3 separate regions of the Homo sapiens genome follow, and regions 1 and 2 are each linked to region 3. The links are contacts of gene promoters, found by promoter capture Hi-C in blood cells and fetal thymus (Javierre and others, 2016). All regions are on one chromosome and are shown on one strand. Each heading gives the region's core, a stretch centred on a gene start or on the middle of the fragment in contact. The rest is flanking DNA. Distances are from core to core; before and after follow the strand shown. Region 1 has its middle 2.5 kb from the start of ZNF746. Region 2 holds the start of KRABD3 (KRAB domain containing 3). Region 3 holds the start of ZNF212 (zinc finger protein 212).

Evidence for each region. The method cuts DNA at HindIII sites, captures the fragments that hold promoters and counts their contacts. A CHiCAGO score of 5 or more calls a contact.
Region 1: a contact is called between a fragment that was not itself captured here and the fragment with the promoter of ZNF212 in region 3, in 3 of 17 cell types (total CD4 T cells, total CD8 T cells and neutrophils). The highest score is 6.4, in total CD4 T cells.
Region 2: the fragment with the promoter of KRABD3 here is called in contact with the fragment with the promoter of ZNF212 in region 3 in 1 of 17 cell types (naive B cells); the score reaches 6.3 in naive B cells.

Annotation. Positions count from the first base shown.
Region 1 is chr7:149,498,209-149,502,470 of GRCh38, forward strand. No RefSeq gene overlaps it. Among named protein-coding and RNA genes, the nearest start is that of ZNF746, 2.5 kb to the left of the region's middle. The HindIII fragment of the contact is 3,449 bases long and covers 1,271-4,262 here.
Region 2 is chr7:149,711,915-149,716,371 of GRCh38, forward strand. KRABD3 (KRAB domain containing 3) reads left to right here and starts at 3,037. Exons shown (of 17, transcript NM_001290187.2): 1 at 3,037-3,152. The coding sequence starts at 3,141. RefSeq lists silencers at 1,564-1,858, 2,685-3,124 and enhancers at 2,190-2,689, 3,327-3,959. The HindIII fragment of the contact is 2,289 bases long and covers 2,153-4,441 here.
Region 3 is chr7:149,237,745-149,241,932 of GRCh38, forward strand. ZNF212 (zinc finger protein 212) reads left to right here and starts at 1,907. Exons shown (of 5, transcript NM_012256.4): 1 at 1,907-2,058. The coding sequence starts at 2,035. RefSeq lists an enhancer at 1,674-1,968. The HindIII fragment of the contact is 6,599 bases long and covers 1-2,741 here.

The DNA of each region.
Region 1 (4,262 bases), core at 1,745-4,244, 260 kb after region 3:
CTATTTTGGGGAGGACAGATGTAACTCATGCCCACCTGTGTTTGAAATGGAATAAATACTTCCAACAACAGGAATATAGTTCGGTAAACCCCGGTAGGCAACCACTTAGCATTTTCTGTAATGGGTTTATTACAGTAAATTTTTTTAATGGCATGAGCAATGGGACGCAATACCATCATTTAAAATGATTTCGGTGAAGGTCTTGGTAGGAACAGATGTTCATGATGTTTTAAGAGAAAAAGCCTGTCCAGGACGATCCTGTCTTTGTTTTAAAAATAACATTTTAAAACAATATAGGACATATGTAGCGTCATATACTGCGTACATGTATAATTACAGTTTTGAAAAGTTTGGAAGCATATATATCAACATGGCCTCAGTAGTTCTATTAAAGGTCTATTCCTTTAATAGACCACGGGCCGTTTTTATGCCTTTTCTAATTTTTTCCAATTCATGTTTTTATTTTTCCATGACAAGGATAGTATTTTTAAACAAGGAGAGAAAAATAAAAATTTAAATGTTCTCAAAGAGGCCAACCAGAGCAGGGGAAGGAGGGCGCCTTGGACGGGCCCCCACGTAGTTTCAGAGGCTCATTGCCTTTCAGGAACACGACTTGCTCATCTGTGTATTCCCCAAGACTAACTAGCCAACTGCCTAGCACACACTGATAAGAAAATATGTGAGAGATCTGTAATCTTTTTCAAAGAAGGCAGACCTTACAGAATAGATAAAATTTGAGCTGGATCTTGAAGAATTGGCAAAATATTGATAGGCAGAGAGCATTTCAGACCAGAGGGTGGTAGTAGAGGTGTGAGCTGGATGACAGCCCAAAAAAAAATTGATGTAGGAAGATATAAAGCATTTTAGGGCCGGGCGCAGTGGCTCACGCCCGTAATTCTAACACTTTGGGAGGCCAAGATGGGTGGATTGCCTGAGCTCAGGAGTTTGATACCAGCCTGAGCAACATGACAAAACCCCGTCTCTACTAAAAATAGAAAAAATTAGCGAGGCGTGGTGGCACGCACCTGTAATCCCAACTACTGGGGAGGCTGAGGTACGAGAATCGCTTGAACCCGGGAGGCAGAGGTTGCAGTGAGTGGAGATCACACCACTGGGTGACAGAAATACAGTGCATTAGAAATAAAGAGACATTTTTAGTGTGCAATTTAAAAAGTTCCCTTTTGACAGGCTGAGTCGGATATGCCAGGGTCATCTCTAGGTAGTAATTTCCAAGCCTGGCTCTCAGAGCAGCTGCATCAGTCTCTGGGGAAGCTTGTGAAGGATATGGATTTCTGGATCCCATCTCATATCTACTGAATCAAAATGTCTTTGGGATGGGTCCTGAGTAATGTGGAGAAAACTTATTTTAAAAGAAGGTCTCTTTTTAACAAGTTCCTTGTAGGGGTTGAGGTAAGGGTGAAGCTGGGGCTCTGCAGACAGCCAAGTTAGGGTAATGATGACTTGCTCTGTCCTCCACTGAAGACAGGCATCTATTGCAGAGCATCTCTGGTGCTGGTTTTCCAGCCTCTATTTGTAAAAAGAACGAAGATAAACCTCCTTGGATTGATATATGAGGCTTCCAAAGCCTTTCCCTCCATTTTGGGCACAGGTGTCAAAAGCAGGCATGAGAGTTTCCACTCCTGTGCCTTTCCTCATGCTTTTCCCCTCTCCTCTTGCCCACCCGAAGTTCTCACACCTTTTCCAGACCAGCATATGCCCTAATTCTTCCAGTTAAGTCTCTCCATGCCAATCACGGCTGCAGCAAGCTCTGCATTGTCCCAACTCTAATAATTTTTATTCTCGGTGCCATTCATATGGCACTGAGAAAAAAATTACAATACAAGGTAGTAGTTCCTAACTCACCTCTTGGATTATAAGTTCCCTGAGAGCAGGGACTATATCTTATTTCTCTTGTCTCTCCTGCAGTGCCTAATACTGGGCAGGTTTAGGCAACATAAAGTAATGATTTAGTACAAGTCTTAATTGATTGCTCTGTGTGGTGTGATCAACTGTGGTCCAAAGAATCATCCCCTCCTCTGCTCTAATACTTCTGCAGCCCCTACCATCTCCACCTTCCTGCTGAGTATTCCTAGAAGAAAAATCATAAAGCATTTTCAACACACCCAGAAGGAGCCTGGAAGGGCTAGAGAACATGAGACCACATGTCAACTCAAGGTGTCAGGGAGGCAGGAAGTGTGTGGTTCATACTGCACATAGACTGTGTAGATGTAGGGACTATGGACCCATGCACCCCTATGAGTGCTTCCTATACTCCAGCAGGTACAGCAGAACAGGTGGACCTCTATTTTTCCAGCTGCTCCCTTAGGCCTGAGCTTTTCCCCTGGGACCAGGCACACAGCCTAAAAGTTCAGGCTTGGGGTTTTCAAAAAGACTGTGGTAATCATTGCTGCCCACTAAATATTTCCAGCTGGTTTCTCTTGAAGACCATGGCTGGATGGCACTTCCTGGTTTCTTCTGGCTGGGTTGGACCATGTGACAAGTTCTGGCTGATGTTTTTTCTTTCCCTCTACTATGGTAACCCAGCAATATTTGAGGAGGTGGGTGCTGTATTTGCCTGCATCCTGGAGGTGGGGGACATTGAGTAGACTCCCCAGCCATCCCATGATGAGCTACTTACAGCATGAACATGAAACTTTTTGTTGTAACATGGTTTGGGGGTTGCTTGTTCCACAGTTTAACCTAGCCTATCCTGACAGATACAAAGGCATGGTGAAAGTTGGCCAGGCATTGCAGCAGGCATCCTTGGGCTCCAGGTGGTGTCTGCTCGAGCTTAACTTCCCTTACATTGTCTGAGTGCTCTCACATTGAGCGTTACCCTGCAGCGGTTAGATGTGGTGAAGTGCTGGAGAACTTGCAGCTGGCCCTGGAGTCTCTCCCATGGAGCCAGTGCCAAGTTCCTGCCTCAAATCCCTCAGTGAAATTTGCAGATGCGGATGGTCAGGGCCATGGCTCTGAGAAGCTACCTCCTTTCCTTCTGCTGGGAGCTGGGAGACTCACAGTCCTCTGGGGTTGGCTGGCTGGAGGCCAGTGCCTCAAAAATATTCTATACCAGAGCCCTTGAGTACAGAGAAAAGTGAATGTATGTCCTGTGGGTCTGGACGCTGCCTGAAATGGCCCTTGGTGAGCCAGAAGGTGTGATAAATTGTCATACTTTAACAATCCATTAAATCTTGTCTCCTTTATAAAACTTCTGTGCTTGTTTTAATTTTAAAAGATTATTTTGATTTATTGACCAGAGTAAAAAATTTATTTGATGTTTCAAAACCCCTCTCTTGCTCCTGAAATGGGAACAATTCCCTCATCCGCCTCTCAGGGTGTGAGATGGGGGCTGCAGCTCACTTTGTCAGTGCCCCGCTGCTCAAACCTCTAGCGGGAGCATGTAGGCAGGCAGGCTGTGGGGCTTATCACAAGGACAGAGGGCTTTCTGTATCCTGGGGTTCTTGCCTTAGTGTGCCAGAAAAATTAGATCACGCGTGGGCTTGGGGGATGGGTGCAAGGCTTTTTATTAAGTGGTGGCAGCTCTCAGTGAGGTGGATGGAGAGGCCAGAAGGAGGATGGAGTGGGAAGGTGGCCTTTCCCTGGAGTCAGGCCACCCAGTGGCCGGGCCCTCCTCCGACTGGCCTCTGCTGAACTCCGTGTCGTCCCGTCATAGATGGCCTGCCGGCGTCTGCTGGTGTCTGCCCGTGTGTTCTTCTGCTGTTGAGTTCCTCTCGATGTCCAGCTGCTCGTGTCCGTGCCCACTAGGGTCTCAGGATGTTTAAAGGCACAGGATGGGGTGTGTGGCAGGCCAGGGTGGTCTTGGAAATGCCACATTTAGCCACAGAAACAGAAATACCTGTCCTCACCTAGGTCAGTGGGCACAGGCCTGAGGGTAGAGCCTTTGCCAGGGACCCTGCCTTTCTCTACCCAGCACTTTCCTGCCTCCCTCCTGTATCACTCCCACATCCCTCCTCACCCTGGACCTCCCTTTCAGGGGGTCCGTGCCTCCGTCTGAGAAGCATAGCTCCAGGCATCTCAGGTGTTGCTGAGTTTCCACCATGATGGCATCACCCTCTGCCAACCTGGAGGTAAGATCCTGATGTGGCATTAGAAAGCCAGGGGCAAGGTGGGCAAGTGGCAGATGTGTGGAGGAAGTTTCAGTGCCCTGGCATCCATGATTGCCTTTCAAGTTTTCTAGAAGCGTCCATAGCCTCAGTTATTCTGATATGGTGATGTTAAAACCTGCCTACACCTAGGGTGTT
Region 2 (4,457 bases), core at 1,787-4,286, 480 kb after region 3:
TCTTTAGTAACTGATAGTTCCAAATGCAAAAAGATGATAAACTATAGAAGGCATAAACCACATGATTGATAAGCTTGATTTTACAGCTCTAACTAGATCCTACACCAATATTAGAATATATGTACTCTTTTAGGCAAACATGGAACATTTTCAAACATCTATTGCACACTTGGCCACAAAGCAGTCTCAGAAAATTCTAAAAAATCAACATCACTTACTACATTCTCTGACTATAAGGCAAAACTCAAAAACAAAATAACTCATAAAAAGATTCGTATTTGGAAATTAAAAAGTACTTTTAAATAATCTCATGGATGGAAAAAGAAATAATAATGAAAATCAGAAAATATTTTAAAGTTGCAGCCATTTTCACATGGAGGACTGGCCAGCACAATTTGCCTTTAGATTCATTTGGGAAAAGTGCCGACTAGTTCACCAAAAGTCAATTCACAGAATGACCAGATAGCCAAAAGCCAAATATGGTAAAAGCTAAACCACTGAATATCAACTTGCTAAACAACCAATCTGAATTATTGAAATTTTTTTTTTTTTTTTTTGAGACAGGGTCTTGCTCTGTCACCCAGGCTGGAGTGCTGTGGTGTGATCTTGGCTCACTGCAACCCCCCTCTGCCTCCTGGGCTCAAGAGATTCTCCCACCTCAGCCTTCCAAGCAGCTGGGACTACAGGGGTACACCACTGCACCTGGCTAATTTTTGCATTTTTTGTAGAGATGGGGTTTCATCATGTTGCCTAGGCTGGTTTGGAACTCCCAGGCCCAAGCAATTCACCAGCCTTGGCCTCCCAAAGTGCTGGGATTACAGGTGTGAGCCACCGTGCCTGGCCCCAGCCAAGGAATTTTTAAAGATGTGTTTCAGCTCCACTCCTGCCTTTGTCTGTGTCCAGAGCCATCCAATAAACCTGGTTCAGGACAGGTCTTCACAACTATTTTTTAACGCACACACACGGGCTGAGGTAAATACAGGTCTACAGGGTCAAAGGCGCAACTAAAATTTGGGGGATAGGGGTGCCAGGAAGTGTCTCCATAATTTAAATAATTGGCCATGCAGCAAATTTCATGTTGGTGAACTGCTTTTAGCGACTGATGGTCCACAAATGGGGCAGGAAGCCTAGCCAGGAAGTGGACGTTTGAGTCAAAGAGGTGCCAAGAATCTGCACAGCTTAAAACAAAGGTGCATCTTACTTGGATAGAGATTTCTTTCTACAGGTGTTTAAGTTTAAGGCAGGGGTCCCCAGTCCCTGGGCTATGGACCAGTACCAGTCCTGGCCTGTTAGGAGCTGGGCAGTGCAGCAGGAGGTGAGCTGCGGGCAAGCCAGGGAAAGCTTTATCTGTAGTTACAGCCACTCCCCCTTGCTCGCATTACCCCTGAGCTCTGCCTCCTGTCAGATCTGCAGGTGCTGGATTCTCATAGGAGCCAGAACCCTGTTGTGAATGCGGGATCCAGGTTGCGGGCTCCTTAGGAGAATCTAATGCCTGGTGATCTGAGTTGGAACAGTTTCATCCCAAAACAACCCCCCTCCCAGTCCATGCAAAAATTCCCTTCCACAAAACCGGGCTCTGGCCCAAAAGGTTGGGGACCCCTGATTTAGGGGGTTTTAACGTTTAGGGATCCCGGGCCGGAGGGTGGGCGGTGGAGAGGAGCTGGGAGCAGGAACACATTACTGTAAGGAGCCCGCCTCACCTCGGCACGGAGGTGGGACCCGGCCTAAAGCCCAGGAGGCGACTTACCCTGAGGGCTGTGGCCTGTAGGGCTCTTGAAAAGTTGGACTTTTAAGTTTTCCCTTTCCGCGAGGTGGGGCCTTGTGATATCTTCAAATCCTTGTTCAGCAGGCTGCGCACACGCCGGTCCTGTGTCTAAGGTGTCTCGGGTATGACCGAGGGGGCTTTGCCCGAGTGGGCGTGCGCCTTTCCTCGGAGGCCGGGACGAGGGGTTGTCGGCATCGTACCCGAGTCCGTGATCATGGCCGGCGCGGCTGCAAGGGCCAGCCCCGGGCGACTGGGCGAGGAATTCCCTTTCCTTCCCTCCGATATTGCCCAGGCAGAGCGCTGTCTGGGCCGCAAGGTCTGGACGGGGCTTCCAAACTCAGAGCAGAGTCTCCTCTGCGTGGGACCACAGCCTCCCCTTCCCCTCCAAGCTTCTGTCTGGCACAGCAGGCTTAGCCCCGCAGGCCCCCTTCCAGCAGCCTTCTATAAAAATGACGGGGTCCTTCTCCAGACAGGAAAACCAGGCTCGCTGCGCCTCGCCCGCACCCCCGGAGCGCTCTCGCAGCGCCCGCCCAGACCAGGCCTTCGAACTCGTGAAGCGCAGGGGGAGGCAGAGGAGAGTGGGCCGCGCTTCCTTCCCGCATCACACGTTTATTTGAGGCCTACTATGTGCCAGGAACAACTGGGGTTACCACCCCAGCAAACAGGCACGCAAAATGTGACACGAAGGTAGGTCATGGCTGCGGCGAGCGGGGGCGCGGGCGAAAGACGTGAGGATGTACGGGGGCCTGGCAGCTGCTCTGTCCCACCCACGCCCGGCCGGACCCTCGACCCCTTTCACTCCAGGTCGGGTTTCCCCGACCGCGGCCTCTGGGAAAGATGGGTCCCTCTTCATCCCCACCATCAGCCCCTGGCACATGGGACGCGCTGAGTGGTGGCTGCGGGAATGAATGAGTGATAAGCGGCGCGTACCCGCGGGCTTGCACGCCCACAGCCGCCCCGGCTGGTCTCGGCGCGCAACCTCTACCCGCAGCTGGGGGCGGGGACGAGGGGAGGGGGCGGGGACGAGGCCCGAGCCAGGTCCGCCCCGCCCTGTCTCCGCCCCCCGCTTCCGAGCCGGCGCCGCGGCGCCTTCTGGGAAGTGTAGTCCGCGTCTGCGCCGGCCGGCCGGGCCGCCGAAGCCGGGGGCTCCGGGCGGAAACGGCACCACCCACCAAGGGATGCGAGGCGCTCGGGGCGGGCTCAACGAGGCCGGGGGCGGGCCCGGGCGCGCCCACCCCCGCCCCTCCCCCTCGGCCCAGGCCCCCGGCCCCGCCTTCTCCTGCGCGGACCTGGGCCGCCGCCGACGAGGGTCGCGTGCGCCCGCGCCAGGGCCCGCGCCGGAAACCGAGGAGTGGCGGGGAGGCTGAGCCCGGGGATGGCGCGCCAGGTAAGGCAGGCGGACGCGCGGACCCCTCGGCGCAGTGCGGCCCCGAAGGCGGTAGGGCGAGAAAGAGCTGGGACCCCCCCGCAACTTCGGGATCGGCTGGGTGAGGCTGGGCAGGCCTGATGCTCAGGGGTTCGTGCCGGGAAGTTCAGGTCCTCGGACAACCTCTCTCCAGCTCTCCGCCGCCGGTACCCACGGCCCAGTCTCCACCTGGGGAAACCCCCTTGGCGTGGCTTGTTTCGTTACAAGTTATCCTGGTAGAGTGGGCATGAAGGCCTCGGAGGCAGTGAGTAAATCTCATACTTCTGTTCTTGGTGGAATCCTGGATCCCGGGGGCTGGGGACGTGGAAATGGGGAGAAACAAAGATAGAACAAACCCCAAGTTTTGTCTTGGGAAGCCTGCAGGTAAGGCGTTTAGATCTGAGAACTGGAGGGAGAGCCCCAGGCCGTGACAGCCTGGGCACCGTTTGGGCTAGGTTGTGTGTGGGCTGTGACGATGCTGGGAAACTCTGGTGCTGATATCAGTGAGGTATCAGGTATCTGGTGCTGATACCAGCAACTGCTCCACGTTCTTCTGGATGGGCACCTGGAGCCAGTTCTGCAACCGTGGTGGCTCCTGAGCTTTGGCCAGTCCGAGGCAGCCATGGATGGGGGGCAGCGTGTGACTAGGCAGAGCAAACACTGTGCCAGGCCCTTGGCGTCATTAGTGCCCCCAAGCATTTGGGGAGAAGGGAGAGGCTAGGCAAATTGGATGTTGTTGGGCAGGGACAGTCAAGTGTCCTTTTCAGGTCTGGCTGCACAGTTAAGTAGCCTAGGGACACCCTGGTTCAGACATGCCCATGGCCCCATCCTAAGGCCTCCTCATACCACAGTTTCCTGTTCTGTAAAGTGAGGAGTTTGGGCCATTGACCTTTCAGATCTGATGAGGGGAATATCCTCACACTACGTAGCTTCATGGAGAAGGTGGCCAGGAGTGACCTTGGGGAGTGGTAGGTCACTGTAAGGTGGAGAGGAGCAGGGAGGGTTCCCAGAAGCCCAGGGCAATGTGAGCACAGCCTCCAGGTTGAGAGGTCCTGTGGCAGGGTCTGATCAGGGAGCCCGAGCCTGAGGCCCACTGGGAGAGCAGGTCTAGGTTGGGAAGGACTGTGAGAGAGGGGCAGGTCCAGCAGGCACTGAAGCTGCAGTTTTTGTGCTGGGCTAGTGACACGGTGGAAGGGTGATGTTAGGAGGACCAGTGTGCAGCTATGAGCTAGGAGGCTGCCCAGTTACAAGAGTCCTGGGTCAGCCCAGAAAGCTTTTCTCCATTGG
Region 3 (4,188 bases), core at 657-3,156:
ATAGAGGGAATGAGTTCTACGACCGAACTGTTTAATGACCTCAGCATCCTATGTCCTGATATTGTGCCTGTGGAGGATAACATTTTTATTTTATTTTTAAAGACAAGATCTTGGTCTGTTGCCTACGCTGGAGTGCAGTGGTGCGATCGTGATTCACTGCAGCCTTGAACTACTGGGTTCAAATGATTCTTCCACCTCAACCTCTTGAGTAGCTGAGACTACAGGTGTGCACCACTACTCCTGGCTCATTTTAATTTTAATTTTAATTTTGTAGAGACAGGGTCTGCCTATTTGCTCAGGTTGGTCTCAAACTCCAGTGATCCTCCTGCCTTGCCCTCCCAAAGTGCTAGGATTACAGGCATGAGCCACCTCACCCATGACACATTTTTTTTTTTTTCTGTATCTGACACCAAGAGTTTGTTGGTCTGAGAGATTAGGTCAGACCCTCTGGACAGGATCTCCCTGACTGACCGGTTTCTTCAGCCTGGCCCATTCTTTCTCTAGATTTATTAATGATTCAGTGACGTGCCCGTTGATCTAGTTGCCCTGGAAATAATGCCTCTGTTTGAGATGACATTTCATATCCTTACACTCTGATTCACCATTCAATCATTTACAAATATGAACACTTCTGTGTACAACAAATGGAGGATACAGTAGACAGACATTTCAGTGGAAGAGATACAGATAATTAATATGTAAATGAGTGAAAAAGAGAGATTACTTCAGATGGTGATAAATGGTATGAAAAATTTCCAGCAGGGTAACGAGATTGAGTATTGAGATGGAGGATGGTGTGGGGCTGTAGAAAGGGGGGACTGGGGATATCTCTCTGAGGATGTAGAATCTGAACTGAGCCCTGCATGTGAGGAAGGAGCCAGTCATGATCTTAAAAGTTTCGTTCTCCGCCGGGTGGGGTGGCTCACACCTGTAATCCCGGCGCTTTGGGAGGCTGAGGTGGGCGGATCACCTGAGGTCGGGAGTTTGAGACCAGCCTGACCAACATGGGGAAACCCCGTCTCTACTAAAAATACAAAATTAGCCAGGCGTGGTGGCACATGCCTGTAATCCCAGCTACTAGGGAGGCTGAGGCAGAAGAATCGCTTGAGCCCGGGAGGTGGAGGTTGCAGTGAGCCGAGATTGCGCCATTGCACTCCAGCCTGGGCAACAAGAGCGAAACTCCATCTCAAAAAAAAAAAGTTTCGTTCTCAGAGGAAACACTTCACGCCTATCCTGTGAAGTGGAAGTTCATTGCTTGTCTCCAGAGAGACAATGGTATAAATTAGGCAGCTATGGTTGCCGTAGTGTTGCTGGTATTGGGGATTAAGTACATGGCGATTAAATGGTCATGTGGCCGTGCTTTCCAACAAAAATTCCAGACACATCGTCTTACATGTAGCATGAGGACTGGAAATATTTGAAATCAGGGTTGTCTTGGACTTTCCAAGGCACATGATTACCATAATTAACAGGCTACAGAGGGCTGGCCTGGGCCTGACCCCACGCTCCACACTGTTGATATGGAAACTGTTCCCAGTTTCTAAAAAGCCAAATAACAGGTGAACTTTTGGAATAAAATCACTTGCCTTTTGGAACCATATTTCTTTTCCCCAACAACATTACATGTTCTTTCCTCAGCAAAAAGTCTGAGTTGTACACATTTTTGAATCCCTCAAAGCATTTAGCAGAGTGCTGGGCATACGGAAGACAGCAGGATCCCGTGGCTTTGCCTGAAACGCGGAACCTGGTCTTGACTTTTGAGTGACTGAGCCCTCCTGGTGCCCGCACTCTGGCCGGGAGTGCCAAGCAGCGTTCTCCCTCCCGCCGCACGGGGGCACAATGGGAAGCCTGCACAGTGAGGAAGAGCGGCTGGAGCCGGTCTTGTGCCGGGGAGGTCGCTGCTCCCAGAATGCACCTGGCATCAACACGGCGGCGGCGGCGGCGGCTTCCAACAGGCTCTGGGGCGCCGAGCGGACAGGAACGCAGCACGGGGGCTCCGAGGCGGGGTCTGGGTGTTGAGGGGCGACTGGAGCCATGGCGGAGTCGGCGCCTGCTCGGGTAAAGAGGCACCGGCGCGCTGGCTCGAGGGCGCGTTGGGGATGGCGGAGTCCCCTGCCGGGGGCGGGGCTTCGCGGTTTGGACGCCGCCGGGGTCTTGGTTTCCCGGGGCTGCCGTTGGCGCGGGTGAACGCGGACCCTCCTCTTCGCGACCCCAGTGCTCTGCCCTTTTTTCCCTCCGCTTCCTTCTGCAGCGGGGTCGGAGCCTCGGCGCCGTGCGCCCTTGCCCAGAAACTTCTCTGACGCTTGCTTTAGGTTGGTGGATTTGTGACCCTGCCCACACATTTTCTCTTTCGTGCCAAAAGAGCCCGTTCCCAGGTTGGAGTGTTTCCAGATTGGAAACGGTCTCCGTCGCTACGAGTGAGCTCTCCCGCTGCCCGGGAGACCCCAGGACTTGCCTCTCTGCGACCACCTCCTCTTCGGTCCGATGTGTTGTCGGTTTTTCCAGTGCTGCAGATTTCTGTCTGGGGGTTGCAGCCACAGGTTGAAGTCAGCCTGGGCTGCTTCTCCTTGGGGACGGATGTTATCTACAGTGCAGTTGCTGCATTTTGTTTGTAGAGCTGCCCAAACTCTCTCCTTCACCCCCCCCCCAACACCCCCCTCCCAGCCCACCGACCATCCCCATTCTGGGAATGTCAAGATACGGAGTTTGGTGTGAGGAAAATCCTATTTGTGGAGTCACGAAGCTTTCAGCTGTCCATTTGGGTGATTTTAGGCAACTGTGTTCGCTTCTCTGGGTCTCTTTCGTTTTCTTAACTGTAAATCGAGAGTGTTGGAGTAGTTGCTAGATGATCTCCAAGGCTTTAAGTTTCCTTCCAGCTCCGACATTCTCATACTGTTCCCATACTGTTTCAAAGTAGTGGTTAATTTAACAACACCAGAGGGTTTGCAACGGAAGGGGCAGCTGGAATTGAATTGACTTTTAATGAAGTGTTCCTTGGTCTAGAAACACTTCGAGAATCATGTTAGATCTTTGTGAGAATGGAGGGCTAAGGAAATTCTGTGGGGAAAATTTGACCATGAGCAGGGTGCGCTATATTTGATTCTTGTAGAAAGTGCGTTAAGAACTAAGAACGGAGAGATTGGGAGACTTAGAGAACACAGTATTTGCTTTCAAGGAAGTTAACAGTTGAATTGGGAAGACAAGACACAAATGTTTACAATATTAACCTCATCTGACTCCTATAAGCTAGGCTGAGCCAGTCAAAGACTTGGCTTTTCCACAAGATCTAGTTAGTGTTAGAGTCCGGCGAGAGGATTCTGCCACAGTTCTTCCTGCCAGGTCACTCCACAATTACCTACATGTCGTCAGTAGACCTTGTTAGGAAGAAGCCTTAAAGGTCCACCACAGGCCAGGCGCAGTGGCTCATGCCTGTAATCCCAGCACTTTAGGAGGCCGAGGAGGGCGGATCACGAGGTCAGGAGTTCAAGACTAGTCTGGCCAATGTGGTGAAACCCGGTCTCTACTAAAAATACAAAAATTAGCCGGGCGTGGTGGCGGGTGCCTGTAGACCCAGCTACTCGGGAGGCTGAGGCAGAATAATCGCTTGAACCTGGGAGGTGGAGGTTGCAGTGAGCTGAGATCGTGCTATTGCACTCCAGCCTGGGTGACAGAGCAAGACTCTGTCTCAAAAAAAAAAAAAAAAAAAAAGTCCACCACAATCCCAAACTATGCCTTAAATAACATGAATCTGTCGTTGTAGAACTTATTCAAATTGTTCTTGAGCCTGTTTCTCTTCTCAGACATTTCAGGTGTCTGTCATTTAACAGTAAGCTCAAGTAGGTGCCCTGATGAAACAACTGAAAATGCTGGAAAACCCTGCACATAAATGCATTTGAAATGTATTTTAGTAAAGAATACTTGGAGCCCCAAAACTTAAGCGAAAGAGGAAACTCGAAAGTGATAGAGTTCTGAAGCCAACTTTGAGGGCATTGGCCAAACATTCATCTTTGGTGTTTATGATTCAAGGGACCTGCAAAATGGAACACACATCTCAGAGCCTAAGATGGAAAGTCTAAGAAGCTCCCTAACCCAATCCCATGAAGCAGAGAGTTCAAAGGGTAACATTCTGTGTAAGGGTGAACTGAAAGTAAGGTCTGACCTTCAGATGATTGCAAAGTAAGTTGTTAA